6 separate regions of the Homo sapiens genome follow, and regions 1, 3, 4, 5 and 6 are each linked to region 2. Evidence: promoter capture Hi-C in human tissues and cell types (Jung and others, 2019). All regions are on one chromosome and are shown on one strand. The core of a region is centred on a gene start or on the middle of the fragment in contact, and the rest is flanking DNA. Distances in the headings are between cores, read along the strand shown.

Region 1 (2,940 bases), core at 233-2,732, 690 kb before region 2:
CGCACAAGCCTCCAACACATCCCAGGTCTTTCTCATGGGAACCACAGCCAAGCCAGATCTTCTCCATTCTCTACTTGAGCAATTGATTTTTAAAAAGGTAATATTTATCCTGGTTAATGCTCATCTTTTGGCTTGTGCCCAATGTTTCAGTCTAGTGAGATCTTTCTGAATTAGATTCCTTCATTTTGAATATTAGCTGTTCCATTCCGAATTTTGTCAAATACAGATTGGATCAGCATGACCACTAGAGCCTCCACCAAGCCCTTAATTGATATAATGATCCTGTGGCATCACACTAAAGACTCACTTCCAGGCTGACCCCCAAGAACACAAATTATCATTACTCAGGCAGATGTTCTAGATGAAGGCCCACAAGACAAATATCTTTCAGTCCACGTTTTGCCATCATAATGATCTCAGATAAATCAAGAGATATTATAAAGGAGTGGCCTGAAGCTAACTATGTCCTAATAATGTTTTCTAAATTTTTCAGCAAAGGGGCAATCCACTTTTCAAGTCAGTAGGAGGGAATTAGTATCTGTCCTGCCAAAAACAAACAAACAAAAGACAAGACACCTGCCCAGTTCTTGAGTTCTAGGTCTGCACATAATGTCAACCATTGACCTTAAGTGAGTCACTTACAGATCTCCTCCAGATCTGTAAAGACTTCTTCAAACCCAAAGAGAAAGGCAGTTGTAAGCTTTTATTCCATGCACCTTTGCTTCCTAGATTGATTCTGCACATTTTAAAAACTGGGGGAACAAACTTCATATCAAAATTTCTGTAATACACTCATTAACCTATGGATTATTTCATTGCATTGCAATTTTCTATTCAGTTGTATATTTGCTCTACTTGTCCCTGGGCTTTTTGAGAGCAAGGATTAAGTTGATGTTGTCATCAAAACACCTGACATTGTTTCTGACACATAGTAGGTACTCAGTACGTATTTGTTTGGTTGAATTAATAGAACTCATTCTGAAGCCATGGTATGTGTGTGTGTGTGTGTGTGTGTTTATGTGTGTGTGTTTTGTTGGAACAGCTAGTTCATCATTAGCCTGAAGCATTGGCTAATGTTAAATTTAAATTAAAATATGCTCTTGGGTGACTACATCTTCAATTTCATGGTTGATTCCTTTGTGATTGACTTGTTAAACTAAACAAGGAGTTGCAAACTAAAATACCTGGAGGGGCCAGGAAGGAAACAGAATAAATAAGTATGGCTAGGCAAAACTGGAAAATACTCAGCAGTTTCTCAGGAATGGATACTCTGCATTGCTAGATCTACTTTTTCAGAATTAAAAAAAATATATGATTTTAAAATGTGCTTTTAAAAATGTAAATATTCATGATTTTTAGATTTTTGTTTAGAGTTTTGAAACTCTGAAACATAATTTGTAAAACAGTATGTGGGCCAAATAAAATATACTCAGGCTAGATCCAACTCACAGGCCATCAATGCAAGAAAGAGAGCTCAATTTGTCACACGCAAAATGATATTTTAGTTTCCAATGAACATTTAATTTACAATGAACAACCTTGAGTAATATGAAATACCATGTTTATTGTTGAACAGTACAAGCTTAATTACATGGCTAGAGCAAGACTCTGTCTCAAAAACAAAACAGAACAAAACAAAAAACCTGAATGTAAGTATGGTGCAAAATTGAGGTGCCCTGGAAGTATTTGGGAAAAGTGCTATGGGAGCCAGAGAAAGAGGGATGAGCTTCTTCTTGGACAGTCAAATAAGGCCTTACAGGGGATGTGCCTTTGGGGCTTTGGATGATGACTTAGTATTCCCCAGAGAGGAAAGAAGGGAGGGACATTCCCAGCCCATAAAAGTGGGCGAAGGTTATGCACCTTTTGCATATGTGCTTTCCTCTGCTTGGCATGTCCTTTATCCTAAGTAAAATAACTCAGAAACAGCAAATCAAATACTACATGTTCTGACTTATAAGGGGAAGCTAAATAATGAGTACACATGGATACAAAGATGAAAATAACAGACACTGAGGACTCCAAAAGTGGGGAGGGTGGGAGTTGGCAAGGGTTGAAAAATTACCTACTGGGCACAATGTGTACTATTTGTGTGATGGTTTCAATAGAAATCCAAACCTCACCATTATGCAGTATACCCACGTAACAAACCTGCACTTGTACACCCATCAATCTAAAATAAAAATAAAATAATATAAAATTAAAATAAAATATAAGAACAAAATAAAATAATCTAAAATAAAAAATAAAATAGAAAATTAACAAAAGGTGCATAAATATGACAGAGAGTAGTATGTTTGAAATAGGGTAAGGTTAGAAGTGTTGGAGTGGCAGGTACATTGGGGAGAGAGTCAGGGAATTGGGAATAAGATGGGGACCTAGATTAAAGCTCAATTTGGAAACTTGCTAGGATAAAGAAATGGACCTCATTAACTGAGTGGCAGAGAATCCCAGAAAGCTACTAAGGGTGACATGGTCAGATCTGGGCTTCAGAGAAACCACATGGACATTGGTGGAGGCAGGAGAGGCAGGTGTGTATGCTCTTTCCTCTGCCTGCAATGTCCTTAGTGAAATAACTCACAAATAGCACATCAAATACTGCATGTTCTCTCTTATAAGTGGAAGCTAAACAAGGGACACCCGTGGACACAAAGACAGAAATAATAGACCCTGGGGGCTCCAAAAGTGGGAGAGTAGGAGTTGGTGAGGGTTGAAAAATTACCTACTGGGTACAATGTAAACTATTTTGGTAAAGGGTTCAATGGAAGCCCAAACCTCATCATTATGCAATATACATAAATGACATCGTCTTTGGGATCAGGCTTCCCTGGGCTGGGATCTCACCTCCACCATTGACCAGCATGTGGAACTTTGGGTGAGCCATTTCCTTTCCCTAAGCCCTGCTTCCTCCTCTGCAAGGTGAATATGATAATCCCATGTACC
Region 2 (3,262 bases), core at 137-2,636:
ATGGACCCTCTCCCCAAACCCGAAGATTTCGGGGCCACGGGCTCCCAGGCTACGTGTCTCAAGTCCGCCTCAGTCACCAGCGGGAGGAGGCGGCCAGAGGGTGAGGGAGCAGAGTCACACACACACACACACACGCTCACACACACACGAACACGCTCAGACCCACACCTGTGCTGAGCCCAGCGCCCCTTCTCCGTGTTCCAAGCCGAAGTTGGCTTCCCGGTGACATCCCCCAGCGGAGAGGCTGGGATGCGGGGAGCGGGGACCGTGGGGAGCGCCATTGCCTGGGGGAAGGTGGGGAGGAGAGAGCAGGGAGAGCGAAGCCCCGAGGGGAGGGCGAAGGGGAGGCAGCCCACCTGGACATGTGCTCCCTTTGGGGCCGGTGCGCTTTCTCCAGCCCCAGCTTGGTGAAGATGCCCACGAGCACCATGACGGCCACCACCCCGCAGATGATGTAGACGATCAGGTTGGTCTTGTCCTTGGTGGGGTCGTGCAAGGGGTCGTCCTTGCGGGCGGGGGGCTTGCCGGTGTTGAGCCAGAGCGGCGTGTCGTAGTTGGTGCAGGTGCTTTGGTTCAGTCGCCGCTTCTTAAACGTGCAGCAGAACCGGAAGCCACAAGTCCCGCAGCAGAAGATGAAGTCGCCCGAGCTGCAGTTGAACGGCGGGTCCCACTGGCCCATGACATCGAAGTAGCCCCGGCAGAAGTCCGGCGTGGGCGCCCGGGTCGGGGGCGCGTCCGATGCCTCAGCGCCCTCGCTGGCCTCTCCGGAGGCGGCCCCGGAGCGGTTGCCCCCCGCCAGCAGCAACACGCCGCCCAGTTGCGCCAGCTGCCCGTGTCCCGCTCGCTCCTGCGCCCGGCACACGCGGGCGCACAGCTCGGTGAGGAAGCAACCGAGGAGCAGCCGAAGGACGCGGCGCATGGTGTCTCCCAGCCCGGGCTCGGCCGCTCGGCCGCCGCTGGAGCCTCTGCGGCCGCCTCTCGAGGCGCGGCCGAAGCTGCCGAGGCTGCTGCCGGGAGCTGCGAGCCGCCGCGGGCCGCACATGCAGGGAGCGGCGCGGGGCGCTCGGTGGTCGGCGGCCACTGCGCTCGGCTCAGCCCGCGTTCGCCTCAGCCCGCGTTCGCCTCCAGCGCGCCGCGCGCCGAGGGGCCGGCCGGGGAGGAGCGCGCCCGGCCGGGCGGGGGGAGGATGAGCGGGGTCAAGCGCGGGGTGCAGGTCCGGCCGGCCACTGGGTGAGGCGGGGGTGGAGAGCAGAGGAGAATCGGGCTGGCAGCGCCTAGCCTTGGCCGGCAGCCCCGGACTGGCCGCCCCTAGCCCTCTCGCAGTATCCCTCTCACCTCACCAGCTCGCCAAGTGCGCTGAAGAGAGCGAAGCGACACTTGTGGAATGAAGGGAGGGCAGGAGGGAAGGGGGAGGGGGAGGAGGGCGGGCAGAGGAGGCGCGGGTGGGGGGGGGCGGGCGCGAGCTCTAGAGGGGCGGGGGCGCGGGGAAGAGGTGACTAGAGCGGGAGCTAGCTGGGGGGCGTGCAGAGCTGAGCCAGGCGAGCGGACGGGGAGGAGCGAGCTCGGCAGCAGCCGAGGCTAGAGGAGCCGCTCGGATTTCCAGGCAGGTGGAAAACCGCGGCAGGACCTCCCGCGCCCTCTCTGGGTAGGAGGCGCGGCTCAGCCCTGTCCAGAGCGCAGAGGCGGCTCAGCTCGTAGCTTTTTCACCGGTGCGTGTGCAGGAGCGGCGGCCGAAATCTGTGCATCAGGGGAAGGATGACTCGGAGAGGATGGGGACAGACTAAATGGCTTTCACTCCAAGACAGACTGGGTGCAGTCTGGTCAGGATCGCCCCTCCCAGGCGTGCGGGGCCTCCTTGCCCTTCCCGGCTGCGCCCTCCAGCCCTGAGCGCAACCCGCATGGCTCAACTCTCTGGGCCCAAGCAAGGACCCAGGCGGAGCTGGGAAGGACAGGTGGCAAGCCCCTGAGCCAGGGATAAGCACCCTCCGGGGGAGAGGGGCTCGGGATGAACGAATCAAAGAAGGTCGGGGGTAAGAGGGGACAGCCGAACAAGGCCGAGGCTATGGCGTGTCCTGGAAGGTCTTTCCTTGGAAGTCCCCCAGCCTCTCGAACCTGCCGCTTTCTGTCCCTCTTCGCCCCCGCAGCGTTTTCTGCGCTCCACAGGAGGGAACACCGCGGCGCCGCCTCTGCGCTCCCGGATCTGGCGCAGCGCAAGGCCTGGGCACCCAGCCTCAGCCACCCTCCCGGACCTGGAGCCCGCGCATCGGTCTCTGGAGCTGGCTGGCCCCTGTCCCCACGGATCCCCCCGGAAATCCTCACCGGGGGCTGCAGAGCTCTGCCTTGCTTCCTCAGCTTCCAGCCTCCCGTCTCCTCTGTGTTTCCAAATCTGCCCTCTCTCTCCTAGCGAATTCCAGCTCCCCGGAGGCCCTCTCTCATTTCTCCCACCTCTTTCTCTCCTCTGCTTGAATTTGACTCCAGTAGCCCCAAAACAGGATTTGCACCAAAGCTGCTACACCAAATTTAGATCTCCCCACGCCCCGGCGTTTTGTTTTTTAATTGCATTAACTAAGTATACACTTTGCAGGCTGCTAGGCGATTTGCAAGGAGATAATGTTTCCACAACCCTCCTCTCCACTTGGCTGCAGTCAAGGGCTTCTCAGGGCATCTTCAGAGAACGAAAAGTTGGGCGACATGTAAAATGGTTTACTAGGGTCCCCTGAATTGAGAAAGGGTGGGAGGATTTATTGGGACTCTGTTGCAAGTTTTCTCCAAATGAGAAGTTTGGCTAATCGCCCCTTCTCTTTGAAAAAAAAAGTCACATTTTGATGTTTCAAAAAAGATTTGCAAACACACAGCAAGACATTGACAGGGCATACCCAGGAGTATTATATTCCAAACCCATCTGGGGAAGGTATGAACACGTTTAATCCAGATTCACCAGATTCATTATAATAGAATCCCCAAAATAGGAGAGTATGGAAAGTCTGTCATGACTGGCAACCCACGCCCACCACCACCTTGTGAGTCCTACAAACACAAGCACTGGTGTGTGAGAGCTAATGAGAGCTGACATTTATTCAGTGCCTGCAACATACTCACTAAGCTTGCTTTTTCTAAAAGCAGCTCCTCAAGAAAGCTTAGAGCAGTGCCCAGCGTATAGCAGACAGTCTGGAAATATTTGCTGAACCACCGAGTGACTGGTTTCATGTAACTCTCTCTCCCTTAGGTAATAGTACCAGGCCCACACAACAGAGGGAGAGAA
Region 3 (3,025 bases), core at 70-2,569, 600 kb before region 2:
TATTCTTAGCATGGCAGGTTTTTATTCATCCTTCTGGCTTAAATATCCTTCCCTTTGAGAACTGCCATGTCGTCCCTGTTAAGTCAGCCACCAAACTGTGTTTTTTAATTTATCACTATATTCTGATTGTTTTATTACTACCACTGTTATAATTTGCAATTGCATATTTCTCTGTTGACTCATTATCTGTCTTTCCCAGTAGATTTATTTTATTTTATTTTTTATTTACTTATTTTTTTCGAGACAGGTCTCACTCTGTCACCCAGGCTGGAGTGTGGTGGCGTGATCTTAGCTCACTACAACCTCTGCCTTCTGGGTTCAAGCAATTCTTGTGTCTCAGCCTCCCGAGTAGCTGGGATTACAGGTGCATGCCACCACGCCTGGCTAATTGTTTTGTATTTTTAGTAGAGATGGGGTTTCACCATGTTGGCCAGGCTGGTCTCGAGCTTTTGACCTCAAATGATCCATCTGCCTCGGCCTCCCAAAGTGTTGGGATTACAGGTGTGAGCCACCGCGCCCGGCCTGTCTTTCCTAATGCATTTTAAATACCGCAATGGTAAAGACCAGGTCTGCCTTTTTAAACAATGGATATTTTGTATCTAGTACTGTGCCCAGACGCATGGTAGGTATACAATAAATATATTTGTTGAATAAATAAATGATTGGTATGCCATGCATTCCAGCCTCTGTTAATAGGTTGCCTTAAAGTTATTCTAGTGCTGTATCTCTGCCTTCCTAGGTGAAGGCTACGTCTGGCACGTGGACATTTTCCTCCCTTTGCACATTAGACAGATGTTAGTGTGGGATCCTGCATGATATGTACTCAGCCAGAACTTGTAAAATGCAGATATCATGGGTGTGAATCATCTTGATTCCTTTCTTTTTCTCCAAATGCTTGCTTTGGTTTATTTTGTAGGTGGGAATCTGACAGCTATGTAGGCAATCTTTACAAATATGACCTAAAAATATTATACTCTCTGATATACAAAGTATTTTAAAATATATTCCTTTATTTCATCCACCCATTCATTTATCTATATATCCATCCTTCCATCCTTCCATTCATCCATCTGTTCATTTATTTGTTCATTCTTTCAGCAATTTTTTTTTTTTTGATACGGAGTTTCGCTTTGTTGCCCAGGCTGCAGTGCAATGGTGCGATCTCGGCTCACTGCAACCTCCACCTCCTGGGTTCAAGTGATTCTCCTGCCTCAGCCTCCAGAATAGCTGGGATTACAAGCATGTGCCACCATGCCCAGCTAATTTTTGTATTTTTAGTAGAGACGGGGTTTCACCACATTGGTCAGGCTGGTCTCCAACTCCTGACCTCAGGTGATCCACCCTCCTCGCCTCCCAAAGTGCTGGGATTATAGGCTTGAGCCACCGTGCCCGCCCTCTTTCAGCAAATATTTATTGAGCCTCTTTTATGTGCCGGGCACCATTCTAGGCACAAGCATACAATAGTAAATAAAGCAGATGTGGTTCTGTCCCTAATGAAGATTACTGATGTGTGGCCGGCCATGAAAAGACAAACAAAAATGTTAAAAGTATGTAATTACAAATGGAGAATATTGCTGTAAAATTGGTGAAGAGGGTGCTGTCATATGTACTGACATGCTCATGCTTGCCATGAATATATCACACCTCTTTCTGGCTTAAATGCCTTTCAAAGACCCTCCCACTGCCCTTGGCATAAAGTTTATCTTTCTTATACTCCTTTCATGGCTCCATCCTCCCTTTTTCTCTCTTTCCTAAATGACTTTTGTAGTTTCTGTTTTCACACATATGTTCACCTCTAGATCAGAGTTTTTCAACCTCAGGACTAAGTAATTCTTTGTCGTAGGGGGTGTCCTGAGTATTGTAGAATGTTTGCAGTCTCCTTTCCTCTTCCCACTAGATGCCAGTTGCACTTCCCCCTACCCTCAATTTGTGACAAGCAAAAATGTCTGCAGAAATTCCCAAATGTTTCCTGGGAGGCAAATGCACCCTTGGTTGAAAACTACAGTTCTAGGTTAAGAGTATGGGGTTTGGCATTGGGAAGGTTATCCTGTCCTTGTTGAGCACTCTCTACTGTCAATGAAAGTGCACCCGTCCTCCAGCCAAGGGGTGGCTGCGTGACTGACATTAGGCTCCTATAGTGCTCCCTCTCTGGAATTTATTCTTGGGTAAAACATTGGATTGAAAACAGGTGATCCATCCTCCTGCAACTTCCAGAGGAATTTAGTTACCTAAAGCTTCCTGAAACTGCACATTGGGAGTTCTAGTTCATATGTCTTGGTGCTTCTTAGAGCTGCCCTATATTAATCCAATAAGCTTCCTTTCTCCCTTAGTTAGTTAGAGTCAGTTTCTATGATTTATGGCCAAAGAATAACTAACTGGTACATCCTCCTACATGGTTTACAATTATTTAAGACACCAGTAGTTACATAATCCCTGTCTTTTTGTCTCTGGTCTCTCTCTCCCCCAACCCCCTGCCCCTCCTTCTCTCCCTCTCCCTCTGCCTCCCCCCACACTCCACTCTGTCTTTTTCCTTCTCTCTCTATTTCTCTTTCTCTCACTTCCATTGCTGTGCCTGGAAAATCCTACCATTCACCTGGCCCATCATCCTACAAGACCCAGATTAACTGCTATTTCCTTCCATTAATACTGCAGAAACTTTACGCTGGTTCTTCTATATTCCCCATGGGGCTGTGTACATTCCTCGAGAGCAGCACTGTTTTAGTCCTTTCTCACACTGCTATGAAGACATACCTGAGACTGGGTAATTTATAAAGGAAAGAGGTTAAATTGACTTACAGTTCCATATGCCTGGGAAGGCTTCAGGAAACTTAAAATCATGGCGGAAGGTGAAGGGAAAGCAAGCTTGGACCGTCTCACATGGCGGCAAGAGAGAGAAAAGTGAGCAGCAAAGGGGGAAGAGCCTCTTGTAAAACCATCAGCTCTTGTTAGAACTCACTCACTATCACAAGAACAGCATGGGGGAAACCGCCCCTATGATCCAGTCACCTCTCACCAGGTCTCTCCT
Region 4 (3,245 bases), core at 111-2,610, 580 kb before region 2:
GTCTCCTTCCTCTTCACCTTCCACCATGATTGTAAGTTTTCTGAGGCCTCCCCAACCATGCTTCCTGTACAACCTGCCACACTGTGAGCCAATTAAATCTCTTTTCTTTATAAATTACCCAGTCTCAGGTAGTTTTTTACAGCAATGTGAGAACGGACTAATACACTTACTATACAGCCAGAGAGGCAACATTCACCAATTAACAACTGCTAATTTCTGAGGGCTGGCTGGAAGCATGCTAGGCACTCAGATTTGGCTGTGAGTTGGAGCTACTTGAGAGGAAGAGGAGGAAGACCACCAGTTATGCATGTGAAGTCCATGTCCTGTACTGGTGCTGTAGAGGCACACATCTCATTGAGCTCTTATGCCCATTGTGCTGATGTGGGAACCGAGGCTCGGAGAGGTGAAGTTACAATTGTACAAGGGGTGAAAAAAATTATAAAAGCTATACAATTTCCAAAGCTTTTATCACACTTGTTTCGGAAAAACTCTCAAACTATGTTTCTCCTCTAGTCTCACACTACCACAACAACAATCATCAACATGGAAGGCTTCTGTGACCAAATATATGGGTTTTTTTCCTCCACACGCCAAGCAGGGAATACCAGCTGGGTGTCCTCTAATTTGATTCTTACACTATCTGCCTGGAGATAGCATCAGATGCCACTGATTGACGGCTCAGTTACCAAGACTGCCCCCTCACCCCTACCCCAGACACCAGTCGTGAGCCCAGGCCTCTGAAATTTCTGACTGGCTTCAAACTGGGGTTCCCAAGAATCCCTCCTTGAATCTAACTAATTTACTGGAGCATCTCACAGAACTCAGGGAAATGCATTTATCAGTTTATTGTAAAAGATATTGCAAAGGATCCAAATGAAGAGATGTGTAGGGTGAGGTATGGGAGAAGGGACACAGAGCTTCCATGCTCTCCCTGGGGACCACCCTTCAGAAACCTCTACATGTTCAGTTATCCAGAAGATCTCTGGACCCAGTTCTCTTGTGTTTTTAGGGAAGATTCATGACCTCAACATTCCTTTCGCCAGGATATAAAGCAGGACTCTCTCTGGGGATGGGTGGTCTTAAGACCCACAATCAGAAAGACCGGGGAAGGATTAGAGGGAGAGGAGGGCTGGGGAAAGTCAGCGAGCTTCTGTTTCCTGAGGCCTGGCACACCTGACATTCTAATAAAAGACTGGAAAAAGGCTATGGAAGCTATGAGCCATGGATTGTGGTCAAAATCCAGTAAAATATATATATCAAAACACCACAACCCTGAATGAAGCTCATTTGTGACCCGTTCTCTGCTCCCTTGTATGTTTTTAAACTTAGAAAAAGTTCTCAGAATAAAGCTAGGCAGCAAATATTTTGTTTCCTTCCAATTTCTGTAAAGTGTTCGGATCCACTCTGACCTTGGGGGTGCATGCCAGTATCTCTGAGTCATGAAACCATCCCTTAAAAAATGAAAAACTGCAACCAATCCAGCCCTAAATGATTCATGGTGCCCAACATACATATTTATAGGCTACATCCAAGAGTGAAATCCACTTGAGGCTCTCTTGTTCACACCCCCACGCATCTGCAAGCCTGTATCAGGCACTTGGAAAAAGCAAAGACCCTGACACTTTATTCACCCACATGTGTCTGTGATGGGGTTTGAACTCTCTGTGAACCACCACCACCCCTCAGAGCCAAACTCTAAGTGCCCATCTGTGGAAGCGGAGGTCTGAAATGAGAATTCTGCTCTTGGCTCCCAGTAAACATTGCTCCAGTTAGTTTTTCTCCGAGTTACATCTCAGCCTTGGGGCACCAGCCACACTCTCACCTTAAATATCACAGAAGGGAAGCATTAGCAGTAGAGTTAGACAGATCTAGGTTGGAGGATCTGCTCCTACTGACTCGGTGACCTTGGACACGTCTCTCTCTCTCTTTTTTTTTTTTTTTTAGTGACAGGATCTTGCTCTGTTGCCAAGGCTGGAATGCAGTGGCATGAAAAGGGCTCATTGCAGCCTTGACTTCCTGGGCACAAGTGGTTCTCCTGCCTCAGCCTTCTGAGTAGCTGGGACTACAGGCATGTGCCACCACGCCAAGCTAAATTTTTTACTTTTCTGTAGAGATGGGGTCTTGCCATGTTGCTCAGGCTGGTCTTGAACTCCTGGGCTCCAGTGATCCTCCTGCCTCAGCCTCCCAAAGTGCTAGGATTACAGGCATGAGCCACCACACCTGGCCTCGAAGTGTCTCTTAATCTCTTTAAGACTTAGTGTCCTCTCTTTAAAATGGAGCTATTAATGACATAACTGTTGTTATGAGAAAAGGGTGACAGGATTTAAGGAAACCCACATGGCATGGTGAATACCGCTGGGGTAATAACAGAAGGCAGCTGATACGTCTCTAAGCCTGCAAGGGCAAGAGGAAGAGGTGGTTACTGGCATCCAGAAAAGGTAATTGTATGGAGAAGGCTGCAAGACAGGCACTGTGGTCTTCAGTAGATACAGTTAAATCACCCATGGTGACTTGGCAGGGAAACAGCCAACAGACTAAATAGCCGGACTGCATTTTACCCTCTTCTCTGACTTCTGCTGATGCCTCCCAATGGTTGAATCCATCTAGAAGCTGGAGAGCAAGAGGACCTAGTCAGTCTCTACAGGTTAGCATTCCAGCACCAGGGCAGGGATGGAAAAAGCACAGATGCGGATCTGGAAGGGCCAGTGGAAGACATTCAGCTCAAGTACCCAATGGAGGAAGGAATGCATGTAAAGAGTGCTGTGTCAGTGGTTGGCATGTAATAAGTGTTCAGAAAACATTGGCCCTGATTATTCAATCAAAGTATGTATGAGTTCTCTTAATGAGATCTCTCTTAATGAGATATCTACCATCTTGTGATTCATTTCCACTTCAATTTTGAAATTCAATTTCATAGAAATTTGGGGGAAAGATAGCTTCCATTTTCAGTGTTATTTGCTTTGCAGATTTGCAGATCCTCATCACTGTGGCAATGACCTCTGACACCTTTGACCTTCCCTCCCAGAGAAGGCATTCACTCATTCATTCATTCATTTGCTCAACAATAATTTACCCAGTAGCCTCTATGTGCCGGGCATGGTACAAGGCACTGAGGACACAGTGGTAGACATAAGACTGGTCTCACAGTGTTTACAGGGCAGAGACACATAAGCTGTCAGTTACAAAACAGCGTGTGAATGTGAGACGGAGAAAGGAGAGGAGGCTGTGGTGGAAGCAGAGGGGAT
Region 5 (3,255 bases), core at 552-3,051, 520 kb before region 2:
TATGAGTGAAGTAGTTCTCTTGCATATGCGGTTTCAGCAGATGCCACATGGTGAAGAATGGAGGCGCCAGATATACAGCCCCAGGTGAGCCATTCCAACCATCTCCAGCCTTCATTACCCTAGACATTGTGGAACATGGACATGGGCTTTCAAATTCCTGATCCATAGAATCATAGGCATATTAAAATGCCATTCTTTCATGCCACTAAGTTTGGGGCTGTTTTGATACTTAGCAATAAACAATTGGAGCACCTCTTTTTTTTTTTCTTCAAAGATCCTGCTAATAAATACATGTAGGTCAACCACTGTACTGACAAACCTGAGATGCCTACACAAGTCATATTCTCAGAGATAAACATAATCTAGCTTCTTTCAGGCTAGGCCTCCCCTCCAAAACATGACAGGTGTCTGTTGAATGAAGGAGCAAAGGAAGTAATAAAGGAAGGATTTAAAGAAGAAAAGGAGGGAAGAAGAAAATAGGCTCATGGTTTCAACCAAGAAAATGTGAGATGGGGTTTAGGTAGGGTATCATTGGCATAAACCTTCCCAAGAGATTTCAAAAAGTTCCACCAGCTTCACCACACCAAAGCTTCAAGCATCCTCTGTTTGATGCCAGCATTCGAGCATGTTGATAGGGTCACCACCATGCCCTTCTTCTCTGCCCGTTGGCATTAACCTGCCCATTGTCTCCACTTAGGGAAGCTACAGTGAGCTGTTCCTTGAGCAGGGATAGATCTCATCATCCAGGCACAGGCTGTCTTTGCAGACGATATCTGCTGAGGTAGCCTCCAATGGTGGGGTCTGCCCAATGTGTGTGATTCCCACTACGATGACATTCAGTCAAGCCACTTCTGCTTTAGGAATGAGGGATCCAGTGGTGTTCAGCAGTTTGCAAGACACTGACAGTGAAGACTTGAAGAAAGAAGTGAGTACACTGTAATGAAAACTCAATAGCTAACAAGAGAGAGGAAGCAAATAAACTGAGCAAATATCTGGTTCCCAGCCTTGCTTCTCACTCTGCCCATTTCTTGGCTCCAACCCAGTTCTCCCTTCTCCTTTAGTGGACAGATTCAGTCTCTGCTTATTTTTTTTTTTCCAACTCAAAACATCCCAAATAACGCAAGTGACAAAAAGAGAAAGTTGGCTTCCATTTTCACTATCAAGTGCCTCCACTTCTAAATTCCCTCGAGTGACAAAACATATCATAAAATATGAAACATATCACCTTTCCTTTTGCGGGTGCCAACCACCCTTCAACACATCATCATGAATCCCGTGCTGATGTTAATAGTCCTCTAACTTCCTGAGAACGACTGCATCAATCCACGTCTTCTCCAGTTGCCATGCAGTGATATAAGCAGCAATTCATCCAAAAGGTGCCTTCGGCAAGCAGGAAGTTATAGCCCTTGTGATTTTCTGTGTGGCTCCTTAAATTGTTATAAACAGACTTTCTCCATCTCAGTGAACACTGAGTTTTTATTTAAACATTTTGTTTTCTTCCAGAGGTAATTTTAAGAAATTTATTCAAATTTCTTAGGTTTTATTATTTCTTCCTTTTTCTTTCTCTGCCTTTCTTTCTTTCTTGCTCTTCCTTCTTCCTTCATTTCCCTCCCTCCCTTCTTCCCTCTCTTTCTTTCTTTCTCTTCCTTCCTTCATTCCTTCCCTTCCTTCCTTCCTTCCTTCCCTTCCTTCCTTCCTTCCCTTCCTTCCTTCCTTCCTTCCTTCCTTCCTTTCTTTCTTTCTTTCTTCCTTTCTTTCTCTTTCTTCTTTTTCAGAGACAAGGTCACCCAGGCTGGAGTGCAGTGGTGTTACCATCGCTCAGTGCAGCCTCGAACTCCTGGATTCAAGCAATCCTCCTGCCTTAGCTTCTCAAGTAGCTAGGACTACAGGTGGGCCCCATTGTGCCTGGCTAACCAATTTCTTGGGTTTCTAAGTGGTTTCCACAGGAATAAACTTGTGAATCTAAGTACCCTTGGGTGTCTCACATCCTCCCAGTGTTGGAGAACTGGTGTCATATGATGGTTAAAATGACATATGATGGTTAAACTGGAGGTGGGCTGCTCCTGTTTGAATATGTACTCTAGTGCTTATGTGTTATATGGTCAGGGGTAAGATAATTAAGATTTTGAGCCTTGTTTCCCTTCTAAGAATGGGGTAACAATTGTGTATACTTTGTGATGTTGAAGGAATTAAATTAATTACTGCATAAACTTACCAGGTTCTAAGTAAGCCAATGGTAAATGTCACCTACTACTGTTATCATTTATAACTCTTTCTATAAGCCTTCAGCTAGCTTGTTTCTTAACTTTGTGTGAATTTTATTTTTTACTTTTTGAGGTTTTTTTTCATGTAGAATATACCTACAGAACGGTGCATAGGTTATGAGTATAGCTTGGTGAATTTTCACAAACCAATCACAGTCATATATCCTGGCCCAGAACAAGTAAAAGAGCATCACCAATGCCACGAAAGCACCTCACTTATCTCCTGTTCTAGTCACTACTTCCCAAGGGTAACTGCTATTCTGACATCTAACACCAAAGATTAGTTTTTACCTGTTTTTGAATTTCATATAAATATAATCTTCCAGTATGTACTCTTTTTTTCGTTTCATACAATATTTACTCTTGTAAGCAAATCAAAGTGACTTTTTTTTTTTTAACGAAAGAAGGTTAGGTTACTGGATTTTCAATTAAATCAAATCTTTAGATTTGTATATTAGTGAAATAATTCAGTAAAATAATCATATCCATAGCTATCCAAATCTTTCTGGATAATCCATTCTGTTTTCTAGATATTAGCACAATCTTAGGCTCATAAACAGAGCTCCACATCATTTCATTCCTTTTTGTCATGTGATTTAGGTTTTATTTTATTCGTATTTAACCTTTAAGTTCAGGAGTATGTGTGCAGGTTGGTTATATAGGTAAACTTATGTAATGGGAGTTTGTTGTACAGATTATTTCATCACCCAGGTATTAAGTCTAATACCCCTATTACTTATTTTTCCTGATCTTCTCCCTCCTCCCACCTTCCTCCCTCCAATAAGGCCCAGTGTGTGCTGTTCCCCTCCATGTGTCCATGTGTTCTCATCATTTAGCTCCCACTTAAAAGTGAGAACATGTGGTATTTGGTTTTTTGTCCCTGTGTTAGTTTGCTAAGGATCATGGCCTCCAGCTCCATCCATGTTTCTGCAAAGCACACGATATTCTTTTTTATAGCTGCATAGTATTCCACGGTGTATATGTACCACAT
Region 6 (2,929 bases), core at 147-2,646, 640 kb before region 2:
TCTTTACAAAAACAGGAATTGGGCTGGATTTGGCCCACAGGTCAGTTTGCAGACCTCTGATGTAGGGCTTCATAGGCAGTAGAAAGGACTTTTACTAATCTTCAGGGCATCAGGAAATCTTATAATCTGATTCACGTTGTTATCCATTTAGCTACTTTACGTCTTTCAATTGGAGAATTTAGTCTGTATACATTTAATGTTACTATTGATAGGTAATGACTTACTACTGATGAGAATACTGCACTCAGCAAAGCTTTTCTTCTTCAAATATGAGAGATAAATTCTTTCCCAGACAAACACAAGCTGAGGGAATTCATCACCCTTACACTTGCCTTCCAAGAAATGCTAATGGGAATTCTTCAGTATGAAATAAGATGATACTAACATGCAAAACTGATTTGCATTTTTAAAAATTGTCACTCTGTAGGCTGAGGAAAATGAAATGGAAGGGTGGGAAGAAGCAGGGAGAACAATAATCTTCTTTTCTGGGTAAGAGATGGTGGTTGCTTGGACTAAAGTTGTAGCACTGAGGAATTTTGTAGAAAGTTGGACAGGGTTGCACATTTCTAACTCCTTTTTCTGATTACTGATTTCCTTTCTTATAGGACAAAGACATCTCCAAAGACAAGTCTGGCTCTAGGCAAGAGGGCTGAATTAGTGAGCCTAGTGTTCTCTGGGCCCCCTTCCTACATTGTTAATTCAGGTGCCATCCACACGACAGGCAAGATGGTCACTGGCAGCCCCAAATTTACGTCCTACCAGTTTGGCAAGAAATCATCCCTCTCTCAAATCCAAATTAAAAGTCCCAGGAAGGAATCTAACTGGCCCAGCTTATGTCACATGTTTCTCCCTGAACCAATCATTGTGGCCCATTGAATGAGCTGCTCTGATTGGCCAGACTTTACACCGTGTGATAGTAGAAGCGGATCGGGACCGGTGTGGTGCCATCATGGAGAGTTCTGATACAAAAGAAGAGGGAGAGGATCCTGAGCAGGTCAGAACTCCAGATGTCCATGTGACAGGCCATGGCGTGAGAGAAGATTCATCTTTGCTAAGCTGCTGGCTCCTGCCAGGGGACGCAACAGGTGGAATGTTCAGGAAGAGAGAGGGAACTATTTCACAAGCAGCAAGACCTCAAGCAGAAGCAATGTTTGAAACAATGGCTGCTTCCAAGACCAGCCTTTCCCATGCTCAGGGGTGGAGGGGCTATTCAACCAATTGCCTGTGTCTGTTGCCAGGGGCAACAGCCAAATCCATAGACTCCCTTGTAGGAAGCCCCCACTTGTTTTAGCTCACTGGCTCAAAGACATATGTGTCCCTCCACTCATCTCTCCTTGATCATCCATGCAGGATTCTTATTTAATTGGATGCTGGCATTTCCGTCTGCTTTTTTTGATCTTGTTTAAAGGGAAACTTATCCTGGTTCTTAACAATCAGACCATTTGGTGAAACTGGCAGTGCTGTGGATTCAAAAAGACCTTGAATAGAATTCTAGCTGTACCACTTCACCAGTGTGCGATCTTGGACAAATTATTCGGCTTCTTTGGATCTTTCTTTTCTCAATGGTAAAAACTGGGTAGGTGTCATCTGTATTACAGCATTATTGTGAGGATGAAGTTGGAAAGTACATGCAAGGCACATGGCATAAGATTTGATATTTGCTAGGCCTTTAACAAATAGTGGTTCTGATGTTATTGTGATGATGAGGAAAATAAGGATGATGATCATGATGTCACCAGATCAATGCTAAACTGTTGACACTATCAGTCTTCTATTGTTTTTTTTTGACGGAGTCTCACTCTGTCACCCAGGCTGCAGTGCAGTGGCATGATCTCAGGACACTGCAACCTCCACCTCCTGCATTTAAGTGATTCTCCTGCCTCAGCCTCCTGAGTAGCTGGGATTACAGGCTCGCCCCACCACGCCCAGCGAATTTTTGTATTTTTAGTAAAGACAGGGTTTCACCATGTTGGCCAGGCTGGTCTCGAGCTCCTGACCTCAAGTGATCTGCCCACCTCGGCCTCCCAAAGTGCTGGGATTACAGGTGTGAGACACTGCACCTGGCCCAGTCTTCTATTCTACAAGGCTCCAAACTCACACCTAAAAAGGTGGTTGCTCCAAAATTTATGTGTTCCTTTTGCTTAGCAATTGGTGAGGGAAATCCCAGCCAGGATAGTAATTTATCAGCCAAGGTTGCTTCTGGCTTCTCAGCTGTGCAATCTCCCTGAAAACTTCAAGAGTCATGTCCGTGCAAAGTGGAAATACAACATCCAGCGGGGAAAAAAAAAAAAAAAAAACAAGAAAAAAAAAAACCCGAAAAAACAAAAAACCGAAAAACTAAGAGCAAGAGCTTTGGAGTCTGTCAGAATGGGGTTCAAATTCTGGTTGTACCATGAATTAACTGGTACTTTACCCTTCTGAGGCTAAGGTTTCCTTATCTATAAGATATATAGATAAAGATACATATATTATATATAATATATCTAGATATATAGATAAGATATATAGTATTATGTATATTTAATACTGCCTCATGCTATTGATTGAGTTAAATAAGATAATATTCTTAGTCAGGTAGTAAGTACTTAGCAGATACTCAAAGAGGTGTTAAGTGTTAAGCCAGAATTTGCAATGGAGACTGCCTCCCTCTAAATGTCATACCCTTTACACTTAACACTTTCATGTCCATGGGGTTGCTACTTCCTCCCTGTAAAATTTTAGGCACGTGACTTCCCCTTCTGGGTTTCTATTTGTTCAGCTGCACAAGGAGCCAGAACATTTTAAGCCTAGCCCTGCAATTCTCTGAGCAAGAGTTACCCAGAAAAAGAGGTAGATATTTGAATAATGTTTCATCTTTAATCTGGAGGGCTTTCTAGGTGACTGTCAGGGAGCATTTTCAGGGGTGTAGACGCCATGGATGCCTTTGGGA

Evidence for each region. Contacts are between HindIII fragments. The study calls those that stand out against the background at their distance.
Region 1: a fragment that was not itself captured here is called in contact with the fragment with the promoter of SHISA9 in region 2 in 2 of the 25 tissues and cell types used here (lymphoblastoid cells and mesendoderm cells).
Region 3: a fragment that was not itself captured here is called in contact with the fragment with the promoter of SHISA9 in region 2 in 4 of the 25 tissues and cell types used here (H1 embryonic stem cells, dorsolateral prefrontal cortex, lymphoblastoid cells and 1 more).
Region 4: a fragment that was not itself captured here is called in contact with the fragment with the promoter of SHISA9 in region 2 in 3 of the 25 tissues and cell types used here (hippocampus, lymphoblastoid cells and mesendoderm cells).
Region 5: a contact is called between a fragment that was not itself captured here and the fragment with the promoter of SHISA9 in region 2, in 2 of the 25 tissues and cell types used here (lymphoblastoid cells and mesendoderm cells).
Region 6: a contact is called between a fragment that was not itself captured here and the fragment with the promoter of SHISA9 in region 2, in 4 of the 25 tissues and cell types used here (dorsolateral prefrontal cortex, lymphoblastoid cells, mesendoderm cells and 1 more).

What each region holds. Positions count from the first base shown.
Region 1 is chr16:13,585,542-13,588,481 of GRCh38, reverse strand. No RefSeq gene overlaps it. Among named protein-coding and RNA genes, the nearest start is that of ERCC4, 330 kb to the left of the region's middle. The HindIII fragment of the contact is 4,832 bases long and covers 1-2,940 here.
Region 2 is chr16:12,899,722-12,902,983 of GRCh38, reverse strand. It overlaps SHISA9 (shisa family member 9), which reads right to left and starts at 1,386. Exons shown (of 5, transcript NM_001145204.3): 1 at 357-1,386. The coding sequence starts at 919. The HindIII fragment of the contact is 6,671 bases long and covers 1-3,262 here.
Region 3 is chr16:13,500,091-13,503,115 of GRCh38, reverse strand. It overlaps a transcript of SHISA9 not described here. Among named protein-coding and RNA genes, the nearest start is that of ERCC4, 420 kb to the left of the region's middle. The HindIII fragment of the contact is 5,047 bases long and covers 1-3,025 here.
Region 4 is chr16:13,481,499-13,484,743 of GRCh38, reverse strand. It overlaps a transcript of SHISA9 not described here. Among named protein-coding and RNA genes, the nearest start is that of ERCC4, 440 kb to the left of the region's middle. The HindIII fragment of the contact is 4,909 bases long and covers 1-3,245 here.
Region 5 is chr16:13,415,221-13,418,475 of GRCh38, reverse strand. It overlaps a transcript of SHISA9 not described here. Among named protein-coding and RNA genes, the nearest start is that of ERCC4, 500 kb to the left of the region's middle. The HindIII fragment of the contact is 3,656 bases long and covers 1-3,255 here.
Region 6 is chr16:13,543,798-13,546,726 of GRCh38, reverse strand. It overlaps a transcript of SHISA9 not described here. Among named protein-coding and RNA genes, the nearest start is that of ERCC4, 370 kb to the left of the region's middle. The HindIII fragment of the contact is 6,455 bases long and covers 1-2,929 here.